Regions from separate parts of the Homo sapiens genome. Here region 1 is linked to region 2. The links are contacts of gene promoters, found by promoter capture Hi-C in human tissues and cell types (Jung and others, 2019). All regions are on one chromosome and are shown on one strand. The core of a region is centred on a gene start or on the middle of the fragment in contact, and the rest is flanking DNA. Distances in the headings are between cores, read along the strand shown. Region 1 overlaps ATXN2 (ataxin 2). Region 2 holds the start of TMEM116 (transmembrane protein 116).

Region 1 (6,849 bases), core at 3,157-5,656, 560 kb after region 2:
CTGCACTCCACCCTGGGCAACAGAGCGAGACTCCGTCTCAAAACAACAACAAAACTGCACTGTCCACCGTATTAGCTACTTAGCTACATGTGGCTTTTTTATTATTCAAAAATAAATTTTTAGGCCGGGTGCAGTTGCTCACACCTGTAATCCCAACACTTTGGGAGGCCGAGATGGACGGATCACTTGAGGCCAGGAGTTTGAGACCAGCCTGGCCAACATGGTGAAACCCCGTCTCTACTAAAAATACAAAAATTAGCCAGGTAATCCCAGCTACTCAGAGGCTGAAGCAGGAGTATCACTTTAACCCAGGAGGCGGAGGCTGCAGTGAGCCGAGATCGCTCCACTGCACTCCAGCCTGGGTGACAGCAAGACTGGGTCTCAAAAATAAACAAACATGGCCGGGCGCAGTGGCTCATGCCTGTAATCCCAGCACTTTGGGAGGCCGAGGCGGATGGATCACTTGAGGCCAGTAGTTCGAGACCAGCCTGGCCAACATGGTGAAACCCGTCTCTACTAAAAATACAAAAATCAGCCAGGCATGGTGATGCTTGCCTATAGTTCCAGCTACTCGGCAGGCTGAGGCAGGAGAATCGCTTGAACCCGGGAGGCGGAGGTTGCAGTGAGCCGAGATGGTGCCCCTGCACTCCAGCCTGGGCAACAGAGCGAGACTCTGTCAAAAATTAAACAAATAAATACATTTTTAAAATGAACGTAAGATTTTTACAAGTACAACAAACTCAGGTTCGAAATTTACATCAAATCTTTTAGACCAAGTCAGTGCCTATACAACTTGGAGGAGCTGGAAGTAAACTTAATGAGTATGATGATGATGGAGGGCCTGTTAATAAGCCACCAAGTTAGAAAAAAAGGACTGTCTTATAGACTTATGGGACTGTGAAGCTCAGGAAGGCTTCATCGTTTGTACATCATTTGTTCTAGCTCCCAGAAGACGTTCACTACTCTTAAAAACATTCAGAGACTATGTTGCCACAGTTTTCTTGTTAAAATATTCTGGCATATGTTAATTCCTACAGTCTGGAAAATTTTCCCAGTGTATAAACAAAGCTGCTGTATCCAGTCTAAACTGGATATGAAGGAATATTAATGCCAGCTGTGGCATTGGCAGTGGATGCACAGGTGATCCTAGAACTGGCTCTTTGCCTTGCCCTTTCCCCTGCTAAGAGATAGCTTTGCAGCTGGAGACGTAACTGTTAGGGCTGGAGAGTTGGTGGCCCTTAGCCCTACAACACCTAGGATTATAGAACTGCTCCATGTGCCTAGCCTAACCCTCTGCACACCATTTACGTGGAATATACCCAGAGCCGTCTATGCTGGTGACTCGGCAGCCTTGCCTACCAGACTGCTGGAACTAGGGTGCCTCTTCCCAAAGCTGTGCTTGCTTCTCTCACCAATCAGTCCTGCATATGTCTGTGTTTGCTAACACGTTATATGAAGAATGTGGGGAACTATTTTGGAATCATTTCTGTGTATGGGCTTATTATCTTGAGGGATTTTAGGATTTGTTTCTCAAGAGAGGGCTGGGAACTATACCTTGCTAGAGTTGTCTTGAGAACGCTCTATTCTCAGCTCATTGCCTCGTGGAGGTTAGTTTTTTATCATCGGTGTGCTGTCCATAGTCACTGGAAGCAGTGAACACATCCTACTCTGCTTCTGATTCTCAACTTACTGTTTTTGAAGCACATGAACAGGCCAGGCACGGTGGCTCACGTCTGTAATCCCAGCACTTTGGGAGGCTGAAGTGGGCGGATCATTTGAGGTCAGGAGTTTGAGATCAGCCTGGCCAGCATGGCGAAACCCCATCTCTACTAAAAATACAAAAATTAGCTGGGCGTGGTGGCACATGCCTGTAATCTCAGCTACTCGGGAGGCTGAGGCAGGAGAATTGCTTGAACCTGGGAGGCAGAGGTTGCAGTGAGCCTGGGCAACAGAGTGAGTGAGACTTATATCTCAAAAAAAAACAAAAAACAAAAAACTGAAAGACATGAAGAAATGGTTTTTGTACCAAGGTTTGGCCCACGCTGAGATTCACAAAGAACTGGCTTTCAGTTCTTATCTTTATTTTGATTTAAACTGGCCCATCATGTTGTCCTTTGAAGTTAGTCTAGTAAATTTCTTTCCAAAGGGCTGGGGCACTCAGAAGGGAGTTTACTTTTCTATATTTATTTCATAAAGCAAAGATGGGAGATCCTCCATTAGGGCTTGGGAAAGTAAACTGAGTGGCAGAAGGGCTCCTGTGATTAGCTGAGAGAGACTGTGGTCCTTCGGCCCTGATGATAGATCCCTGGCCTTGCCACATACCATACACAGTGCCCGCACCCCCATCCCCCACCACACCCAATATAGTCTGTGCCCTCAGGACATTGCTCCAGGGCAGTAGCATGGTGAGGTTAGCCTGATGATGGCCTTGAGCTAAAGAGTGTGCACCTAAAATGCACTTGTTTGAGTAGTTTCTGCCTATGCCTTCAAGTTGCCTTTTTGGGAAAACCTAGTGACCGTTAAGAGTAAATGCAAACTAATTTGATTTTAATATCATATGTAGAGCTGTATTATATGAACCAAATGCTAGTCTGTTAAGCAATAGCTACACTTATTTTTTCAAGACAATGGATGGTTTAAATGGAGTCATCTATAGAAATTGGTAGTGGCGTGAGTTATGCATTGTAACCATCAAGAAAGTTCAGTTGATGAAGTGTAGAGGAGCGATGGAGGTTGTCAGACATCGGTTGTGTACATGCTCCTTTTTCTTTCACTTTAGTTTCCACGGGCTCCCTTGCTCAGCAGTATGCGCACCCTAACGCTACCCTGCACCCACATACTCCACACCCTCAGCCTTCAGCTACCCCCACTGGACAGCAGCAAAGCCAACATGGTGGAAGTCATCCTGCACCCAGTCCTGTTCAGGTAAGGGCAACTCAGAGGTCTGCATGGAGTGGCTTCTTTATCCTAGTATCTGAGTGCTTTCTTCAGGTGCCAGGTATCGCATCGTCAGAACACATGGCATGTCCACCCTCGTGAAGATGGATACAGCTGTGCCCCTGGGGTGGTGGTTTTAAGAATCACATTTAAAGGCTGGGCGCAGTGGCTCACGCCTGTAATCCCACCACTTTGGGAGGCCGAGGCGGGTGGATCACGAGGTCAGGAGATTGAGACCATCCTGGCGAACACTGTGAAACTCCGTCTCTAATAAAAATACAAAAAAATTAGCCGGGCGTGGTGGTGGGCGCCTGTAGTCCCAGCTTCTCGGGAGGCTGAGGAAGGAGAATGGCGTGAACCCGGGAGGCGGAGCTTGCAGTGAGCAGAGATCGCGCCACTGCACTCCAGCTTGGACAACAGCGAGACTCTGTCTCAAAAAAATAAAAAATTAAAAAAAATCACATTTAAGATACATGTTGATAATAAGGTGATTGGATAAGCTCTGGAAACTTGCAGTAATGAAAAATCAAATTTAACATAAAGTTCATAAGGCAAATTCCTATTTGCTTGGGACTTTTTAATTTCTAAGGTTTATGTGATGAGGTTATTTTCCTATGAGCTTCTTGAATTATGTTTGCTAATGGAGGCAGTTAAAGATGTCTTTGATATCTATCAGTTCCCTGGGGCAGTAGTCTTTTTTGACTTTAGTATGTATGCTCAGAAGTTTCTAACTGCCAGACTGAGAATCAGGCTTCTGTACCCTAGAAAGGAGTTGTCCAGATGGGAGGCACCTCCAGCCTTGCTCTTACCACCCTGTACATTCTCCTGTACTTTCCAGTGACCCTCATCATAGGCCCAAGTGTGCAAAGCTTAGCTTTGTGGGTATCCCTTGGCTGCTTTTCATTAAAGAAGTTTTCCTCTCAATTCTTTCCTGTCGCTTTGCAGCACCATCAGCACCAGGCCGCCCAGGCTCTCCATCTGGCCAGTCCACAGCAGCAGTCAGCCATTTACCACGCGGGGCTTGCGCCAACTCCACCCTCCATGACACCTGCCTCCAACACGCAGTCGCCACAGAATAGTTTCCCAGCAGCACAACAGACTGTCTTTACGATCCATCCTTCTCACGTTCAGCCGGCGTATACCAACCCACCCCACATGGCCCACGTACCTCAGGTAATACCAGCTTTAGCCAACTTTCTGTGAAGGCCAAGTAGAATGTGAAGGTTATCAGTAAGCAGCTAGAGGCTCTCCCAGCTAGGAAACCCTGTGTGTCATGCCATTTGCCTGTCTCCCTTTCCCTCTCAAATACACGTGATCTGGCCCTAAGGGAATGTTTGTGTGGTTTTGTCATGGGATCAGTGAAGGTGCTGATTGGTCAGTCCTTTAGTTTTCCAACTGAGACCTTAAAAATATCTTTGACTCTGGAATGCAACCCAGTCCTTCTTTCCTTTCTGTGTCTGCTTTGCTATGTCTATATAGCCTCACTACTATATATATGTGTACATATATATTCCCCTACACACTTACCTTGGAAGCCAGGCAGGGATGATGGCCTTCACAGAGTCTCAGCTCTCCGAAGTGACTACCGGGGCCTGTCAACTTGATTGTTACTCACATGAGTTCCAGACACATCTCTCCAATTGTTTTCCCTGGTTATCCATATATCTGCTTTGACCATAAGTTGTACTCTTGAGAGGGCTTGGCCTTGGACATTGGTGCAGTGTAACTAGAAGCTGGAAGCACCCAGGTGGTCCCATTTTTCTTTAAGAGCAGCCCTGGAAGCACTTTGGAGCTCACCTCCAGTGTAAGCTGCTACAGGTGAAAGGTGTGCTTGCCATCTCAGTGGTTGCTGTCTGCATCAGCTGCTGACAAAGGTCCCTGCACTCCAGGGCCCAGGGGATTGTCTTAATGAGGAGAAGGAGCTGCACTGAAGTTGGGCTCTAACGCTGGCCTTGAGGCCCTCCCTGGGGCTGTTACGGGTGAATTGGCTGTATTAGATGTCTCTGCTACTTTCATAACAGAACTCTCTGAGGCGGGTCTAAGTGAGACCTGCCACAATGAATTCCATTTCCTGTTAAATAGTGCGCCAGTGAGGCTCTGGCAAGGTGTGGGCTAGAGATGCGACTCAGTTGGATCTATCTCTCAGAAGGCTACCTTGTAAGTAGAGTTCCACAGCTCTGGGAAGTTTGGGCGTCCTCACCCTGCAAAGTTTAGGTTCTGTGGTGTAGCGCACTGCAGTTGATTTGCTTTTTGATAGTGGGGAGGGAAGCCGGTTTGGTCCGTGTGGGCCAGCGTGGTTTGGTGGAGTCAGCTTCATAAGAGCTGGGGTCCTGTAGGTGTCTACCAGAGGCTGGTGGCTAAGTAGGCATGTGAACTTACATGTAAGTCAGGGATCCCTAAAACCTCACTCTGTTTTTGTGCTGAAAGGGCAAAAAGGTTAACACAGGGAAGCTCAAATTTGCCATGTGCCCGTTTGAATATGTGAGAGTAAAAACGGCATTTCATCCAAGGCTTATCGTAGTCTAGAACAGTGCACAGTGTGGGAAAAAGGAAACAAGGGCTCTTCCTGGCCCTGCCAACCCCCTGCAGAGCTGGAATCCAGCTGTTTGGGCTGACTAAAATCACCTTTCCAACTTGACAGTGAGTGAGACCAGGTTGAACTTGGTACAGAGACGCTGGGCTGGCCCAGATGACTTCAGGTTACTCCTTTCCATCTCACTGGAGCCATTAAAAACTCCAACTCCTCCTCCTCCTCCTGCTCCATCAGCATATCTCTGAGAGAGTCACGGGGGCCTAAGAGTCTCTTTTCACTGCCTGGTGAGCAGACCAGAAGCAGAGGGAGAGAGGCAAATGAACAGAGGTCCAAGTAATTCACATACTTGACTGTGACAGTCTCTGCTTATTAATGTAATCTGTTTTCCTATTTGAAAGGGATGTTATCTGCAAAACTACCTCAGGCCCCACATGGCAGCCTGATTCTGAAGCATCATTGAATCTTGTATGATATTAAGTTGAGAAAGCTGCCCTTGGATCCAGTGTCTAATCTTTGTGAAGATCTTACCCCATACATAGAATACAATGATCAGAAATGTCAAGGGTTAGGACAGCACAGCCCTGACTTCTACCCAGGCTCACTTGTTGCCTGCTCCCTGACCCTTGCAGGATCTGCCCAAAGGTGAAGCGCGTCTTCAGGTCAATAGATAATCTACTAGAGATTGTCCCCAGAGAACAGAACTGGGCCCTGAGGCCCACCGTTGCCCTTTCCTGAGAGTCCCAGCCCAGTGAAAGGAACACAGTTGACATGTTGTTGAAGCCGGAGATGTTGCCTGTATGCGTAAAAGAGCTCTCTGTTTCAGGCTCATGTACAGTCAGGAATGGTTCCTTCTCATCCAACTGCCCATGCGCCAATGATGCTAATGACGACACAGCCACCCGGCGGTCCCCAGGCCGCCCTCGCTCAAAGTGCACTACAGCCCATTCCAGTCTCGACAACAGCGCATTTCCCCTATATGACGCACCCTTCAGGTGAGGCGTGTGTGTGCAGGGGCCGCCGGGGCACCCCAAAGCATTCTGCTCGCACAGGTGGAATGGCAGGCAGGGCCAGTGCTTCAAGCCCCGCATTTGAGAACTAGCAAGACCCGTCCAGGAGTGTGCACAGGAGGGACTGTGACGATCAGTTCAGCATCAGGGCCTGAGGCTTCCGGGAGCCGAGTCTGTGTGTGTTCTGATGGTATACAGGATTTGGCTTGATGAGAAGCAGCAGCAGCAGCAACAGCAGCCTGATGCATGCCTAGGACTCAGTTGGCCTTCCTTGTTATGACAGGCTGGACAGGGCAGTGTTTTCCTTCCTGAGTCCCAAAAGTCTGACATGTGGGGGGTTATTACCATGGCAGAGTTTGATTGTAGCTCTGG
Region 2 (6,476 bases), core at 1,618-4,117:
ATTAATGTGACTGGCACTTTAGACTGGGGGGAAGATAAATCAAGGAAGAACTCTAAGGAGGAAACACTTAACCTAAGCCCGAATGATGAGAAGTAACTAACTAGCCTTTCAAAGTTTGGGCAGAGAATATTCCAGTCACAAGGAACAACTAGTGCAACATATCCTAAGGCAGTAAAGAGCAAGGAATATTCAAAAGACAGTAGGAGAATGGTTGGGAGATGAGAGGGAAGCCAGGAGTCAGGTCATATAGAACTTAGGCTACTGTGTGGAGACTCAAGAGTGGAAGCAGGGAGACCAGAGAAGAGGCTATTGTAATGTTGACCTAGACTAGGGTGGTAATAGTAGAAAACACTGTTAGCTTTATGGCGCAAAGTTTCCCTTTGGGTCACACTTGTTCTGTGATATTATCTGATTCCCATGGAGCAGGGTGGGGTAGGGGTGTCATTTTGCCAGTAAAGGCCCCCAAAGCATAGGGTGCTGTAGGGTGTGTCTGAGCATGCCTGACAACCAATCAGCCACACCTACACCATTTTTTTTTTTTTTGAGACAGAGTTTTGCTCTTGTTGCCCAGGCTGGAGTGTCATGGCATGATGACGGCTTACTGCAACCTCCACCTCCCAGGTTCAAGCAATTCTCCTGCCTCAGCCTCCCGAGTAGCTGGGATTACAGGCACCCGCCACCACGCCCAGCTAATTTTTGTATTTTTAGTAGAGACAGGGTTTCACCATGTTGGCCAGGCTGGTCTCCAACTCCTGACCTCAGGTGATCTACCTGCCTCAGCCTCCCAAAGTGCCGGGATTACAAGCATGAGCCACCGCACCCAGCCCACACTTTTTTTTTTTTTTTTGAGACGGAGTATTTGCTCTGTCGCCCAGGCTGGAGTGCAGTGGCGTGATCTTGGCTCACCGCAACCTCCGCCTCCTGGGTTCAAGCAATTCTCCTGTCTAAGCCTCCCGAGGAGCTGGGACTACAGGTGTCCACCACCACGCCCAGCTAATTTTTGTATTTTTAGTAGGGACGGGGTTTCACCTTGTTGGTCAGGCTGGTCTCAAACTCCTGACCTCAGGTGATCTACCCGCCTCAGCCTCCCAAAGTGCTGGGATTACAGGCGTGAGCCACTAAGCCCGGCCTACACTTTTAAATTCTTGAAACTTTGCCTTGAATGAGCTGCAAGTGCCAAATCCACGACAGGGAACGCTTGAAAATAGGAGACTTCAACCACTGGAGACAACTACTTCTTGGTTTCACTTCCCCACAATGAGTACAAAACCTGAAAATGAAATGACTGGCTCTCTCGCAACACTAAGCTTGCCCATCTCCTAGAGGAAGTTAAAAGCTGCTCGTGGGTGAAGACAGGTGCAAGAGGAGGGGACTGGGACTGCGGTGTTGCATTCAGCCACCATTTCCAACCGTCCATTTACTCAGGCCAGGATCCCTAATTCTGCAAAAATGGAAGGGGGGAAAGGCGGAGGTAGTGGCAAATTCTTCCATGCCTTGACCCAATTTTACTGATTTTGTTGCCAACCCCAAGATGTTTCCTACAACAGCTATCCCCAACCTTTTTGGCACCAAGAACTGGTTTCATGGAAGACAACTTTTCCACGGGGTTGGGTGGTTTCGACATGAACCTGTTTCGCCTCAGATCATCAGGCATTAGATTCTGATAAGAAGCACACAACCTGGATCCCTCACATGCGTAGTTCACAATAAAGGTCGTGCTCCTATGAGAATGTAATGCCGCAGCTGATGTAACAGGAGGCGGAGCTCAGGCTGTAGTGCTAGCTCGCCTGCCGCTCACCTCCTGCTGTGCGGCCCGGTTTCTAACAGGCCACCGACGGGCCTGGTGGTTGGGGACCCCTGCTTTACAGGGTGGCTGAACTGAAGCTTATTCTTCACGCTTGCACTATTCAAGATGTATGATATCTGATCATTGTTTGCACACTGCAAAGCAGGCTGCAATCCAACCCTGGGAAGAGGGGCGCGGACACGCAGGCTAACGCGCCTGCATTTCCCCCCGCCAACCCCTCCCAGCTTCCACAGCCGGGAGCCCGGTGGCGTCGACCTCGCACCGCCCTCCGGTTCTCCCACTTGGGACTCGAGGGTTGGATCTCGCCAGGCACCGCCCTCTCCCCACAGGTGAAGGGAAGGGGCACCCAGTTCCCTCGGCTGCATCTTTGCAAGGGTGGATGCAAGTATAAATGCTGCAAAAGCAAGGGTGCGCCGGGGCCCTGAAGCGTGCATGCCCGGTGGTCATAACATTCTCCGCTCAGAGTCCACTAGGCCTGTAGGACGCCGGGAAGCTCTGGGACCGTTGCTACAGACCACCTCCCGTCAGCTCCCGGAATCCAGCGTCTCCCCACGGGCGCGCGCTCTTCCGGGCGCCCCGGCGGCACCTGCGCGCGACGTCCCCCGCCCCGGTTACCTTGTAGAAAGTGACCGTATCCAGGGGAAGGGCGCCCTTGGTGTGCAGGCCGCTGCCGCCATGCGGAGCGGAGAGGAGCAGGAAGCCCAGGAGAAGGGGAAGCAGCGGGGAGAGAAATGCGGCGCGGGGCACAGCGGCAGCCATATCGCCGGGTTCCTGCAGAGGGAGGTAGGTAAGCGATAGTGGAGAACGCCCCGAGTCAGCGGTCACGTGACTGGGGGGGCGGACTCACGCGCGCTCACGTGGACACCCCAGGAGGCTCCCATCTGTCTAGGGTGAGAGGGTGGGGCCACGTGAGGGGCGGGGCGAGGGAGGGGAAGCTGCTGCGCACGCGTACTCGGCGAAGCTCGCGTAGGGCCTGGGTAAAAGGGCGGGGCCACGTTGCGGGCGGGAAAATGGGCTCCTGCGCGCGCGCACTCGCCGAGTCTTCCGGCGGGTCCGCCCAGTTCCGTTCCTGCTCCGCTTGAGGAGAAGCGCCAAGTGCGCATGGGGACGCTATAGCAATTCGTTTGCTGTCCTTCCTCTCCTTCGAAGATGACAAGGCCTACCATCGTTTCTTCCTGCCTTTGGGCCGTCAGGCAGTTGGTTGGGACCCGCTCCAACCCTCGGTCAGTCTATTAGTCAAGTTCAGCCGTTATTCTCAGTCAGGCTCCGTCACCACCCTGACCCAGGCGGGCAGTGGCTCCGCGGCTTCCCTGAGCTTTTTGGCCAGGCTTGGCGGTCAGTGTGGCAAGCAGGGCCCTCTTAGGCCCGATCTGAGGTGAGCGCCTCCCCTGGGAGACGCCAGGCTCCTGGGATCCGCCCAGCCAAGGCCCACCCTCCAGGAACCCCAGACGCAATTCTAATCATTCTGTTCCGCAGGTAGTCACTCGGTCCCTGGCTTGTGCCAGACTCTGGCTTTGCCTGCGGGGCTACGGAATAAGCAGAAACAAGACCGTTGTGTGCTGAAGGCACGCACTTTGTTGGGGGAGGAGGCGGCATAGGAATAATGATCTAAACAGTGCAGTGTAATTGCTGTAAAATATTATTCCGGCTGGGCGCGTTGACTCACGTCTGTAATCCCAGCACTTTGGGAGGCCGAGGCAGGTGGATTACCTGAGGTCAGGAGTTCGAGACCAGCCTGGCCAACATGGTGAAACCCCGTTTCTACTAAAAATCAGGCGAGTGTGGTGGTGCGTGCCTGTAATCCCAGCTACTCAAGAGGCTGAGGCAGGAGAATTGCATGAACCCAGGAGGCGGAAGTTGGGGTGAGCCGAGATTTCGCCATTGCACTTCAGCCTAGGTGACAGAGCGAGACTCAGTCTCAAAAAGAAAAAAAAAGACCGTATTTTCTTATTGTAAAGAGACAGAGATTCAGCCATCCCTGCTCAGGAGCATCAGAGGAAGTTGTAGACAGGAGGTGACTTTTGAGCTGGACCTTGAAATAAGAGGGGGCGTGCATGAGGCAAAGAGAAACAGGGCATTTCTAACAATGGGAAAATTATGCACAGGCATGTTGGGGAACTGGTTGAGATGAATCTATGTAAAGGCGAACTGGCGCAACAGCTGCTGCCGCTCTTTTTTATTTTGATTGATTATTACTGAGCTTCCATGGGGCGGATTCGAAAGGGTCTCACCAAGCTAAAGGGTTTGGAGTCACCAGAAGTTTTAACTAGGAGAGTGAGGTTAGATTTGTGTGTAGAAACAGCACCCAGGTCAGCCTGGGCAACGTAATGAAACCTCGTCTCTACAATAAGTAGAAAAATTAGCCATGTGTGGTAGTGCATGCCTGTGGTCCCAGGTACTTGGGAGGCTGAGGCAGCAGGATCACTTGGACCTGAGGGGTCGAGGCTGCAGTCAGCCCTGATTGCTGCCACTGCACTCCAGTCTGGGCAACAGAGAAGACTGTCTCAAAACAAAAACAACATTACTCAGGAATGAAGGAAATGGATTGGAATTGAGAAGACGGGACTAAAGCCAATTAATGGGGTATGGCAATAGTCTAGTTGGAAGAGGTTAAGGTCATGCAGTAGGACATAATAGGGCTGAAGAAGTATGGATGGAATTGACAAACTTTTAAAGGGTAGAATTCACAAGATTTGATGAACAAATGCATGTAAGAGAACATATACAATGCATTGTAAGGGACTTACTGCTATAATTAACCATTGTATGTTTCCAAAATGTATGTGTATAAATAGTCAACAGTGATAACAGGATCCAATCATGGACAACCAGTTTGATTGGATATAAATTTTGAAAGAAAGTGTGTGTGTGTTTGTGTGTGTGTATGTGTGAATGTGTCTGGGGAAGTTAAGAAAAATTTTGAGTTTGCCCTATTGATGGCAGCCAGCTGCAGCAGGGAGGTGTGACTGGGGCTGCACACTCCATGGAGCCTGTGGGAGCCCCGCCCCTTCTGAGTTGAGGCAGGAGCCCCTGGTGCCATTGTGGCTGCCCTCCCAGGTGCAGGACCTGGGCATCTCTGCAGCCTGCACCCTTGGGGGACCAGCAAGACACCCTACTGCAATCCCTGCAGGCTCAGGAGTGTCTGTTCCCACCGCCTGGACTCTCTCTACTCCCGGGGCCTGCTCCAATCTCAGAGCGGGCTTGGGGCCAAGAATGGCAATGGGAGGCAGATTGATTCCAGGGTAGAAGTGGGTGAGTCCCCAGTAAGACCCCACCTTCAGGTCAGGGAGGGCCTGAAGACAGGGGTCCAGGCTGCCAGTCCTGCAGACTGGAGTAGGGACTCGTGGTGCATCTTCTGGCCTGCCCATGGACCAATCGGCATGTACTTCCTCCCCTCGGAGGTCCATAAAAACCCTGGGTTCAGCCAGAGTAGGGCAGAGGACTGCCAGAGGACCAAGAGGGCAGAGACCTATGGGTCAACAAGCCTAAGAGAGGAGCTACCCTCTCTGCTGATAGTTGGAGATGATGGAACAGCCAGTTGCAAAAAGGACCTACCCTCCCTGCTGACAGCTGCAGAGACAACCTGTGGGCAGAGAAGAGCCACCCTCTCCAGGGCCTCCTCTCTTCTGAGAGCTGCAGACATTAGGACGATCAGTTGCAGAGAGGAGCCATCCTCTCCAGGGCCTCCTCTCTACTGAGAACTGAATACCTGATGGACAACCTGCCTACAGAGAGGAAATACCCACTGGAGGTCTCTGAGCTGTTGTAACACTCAATAAAGTTCATCTTTGTCTTGTTCACCCTTCATTGTCCACGTACCTCATTCTTTTCCTGGATGCAGGACAAGAACTCGGGTAAAGGCACTGTGGCCACAGAGGTTTCTGGCCAGAAAATGGACACCCCAAAGACCCCGTAACACTATGAGCTACAAGACAAGTGATAGAAATTAGAAGAAGGGAAAACTATGAACTGAGGTGGTGAAACAAGGCTTTATGTAACTGGTGGAAATAGAGTTAAGCCTTGGAAGGAGGAACATTTTAGATAGAGAACAAGTGGAAAAGGAGCAGATACGGGAATGAACATGATGCTTTGGGAGAATGACTGGCTTGGTTGAAGGGAGTTCTCCAAACAGGAGATAGTAAAACAGTTTTAAGCTCAGATAGGAGGGAGTCTTGAAGTCAAACTAAGAATTTTCTGTTCTGTAGTCTATATGGAGCTATTAAGAGTTTTAAAATTTCTTTATAAAACATTTAAACTTCTAAAATTATTCACTTCTCAGTATAAATAACTTCGGTTATACCTAGTTAGTAGAATTGATCAGCAGTGACTTTCTAGTCATGGTTAGTTTAGAAGTAGGTTTTGTTTTGTTTTTTTTTTTTTTGAGACAGAGTCACTTGGTCACTCAGGCTGGAGTTCAGAGGCCTGATCTCAGCTCACTGCAACCTCCACCTCCTGCGTTCAAGTGATTTTCCTACCTCAGCCTCCTGAGTAGCTGGGATTACAGACGTCTGCCACCACACCTGGCTAATTTTTTTTTTTTTGTATTTTTAGTAGAGATGGGGTTTCACCATGTTGGCCAGGCTCATCTTGAACTCCTGACCTCAAATGATCCACCTGCCTTGGCCTCCCAAAGTGCTGGGATTACAGGCGTGACCCACTGCACCCAGCA

What was found. Contacts are between HindIII fragments. The study calls those that stand out against the background at their distance.
Region 1: a fragment that was not itself captured here is called in contact with the fragment with the promoter of TMEM116 in region 2 in 1 of the 25 tissues and cell types used here (hippocampus).

What each region holds. Positions count from the first base shown.
Region 1 is chr12:111,453,290-111,460,138 of GRCh38, reverse strand. It overlaps ATXN2 (ataxin 2), which reads left to right. Exons shown (of 25, transcript NM_001372574.1): 22 at 2,780-2,925; 23 at 3,883-4,110; 24 at 6,294-6,462. Among named protein-coding and RNA genes, the nearest start is that of SH2B3, 51 kb to the right of the region's middle. The HindIII fragment of the contact is 9,101 bases long and covers 1-6,849 here.
Region 2 is chr12:112,009,556-112,016,031 of GRCh38, reverse strand. TMEM116 (transmembrane protein 116) reads left to right here and starts at 2,867. Exons shown (of 11, transcript NM_001193531.2): 1 at 2,867-3,030. ERP29 (endoplasmic reticulum protein 29) reads right to left here and starts at 2,606. Exons shown (of 3, transcript NM_006817.4): 1 at 2,423-2,606. The coding sequence starts at 2,566. RefSeq lists enhancers at 1,133-1,272, 2,943-3,132, 3,003-3,891, 4,396-4,909 and silencers at 2,273-2,362, 2,703-2,782. The HindIII fragment of the contact is 14,663 bases long and covers 1,597-6,476 here.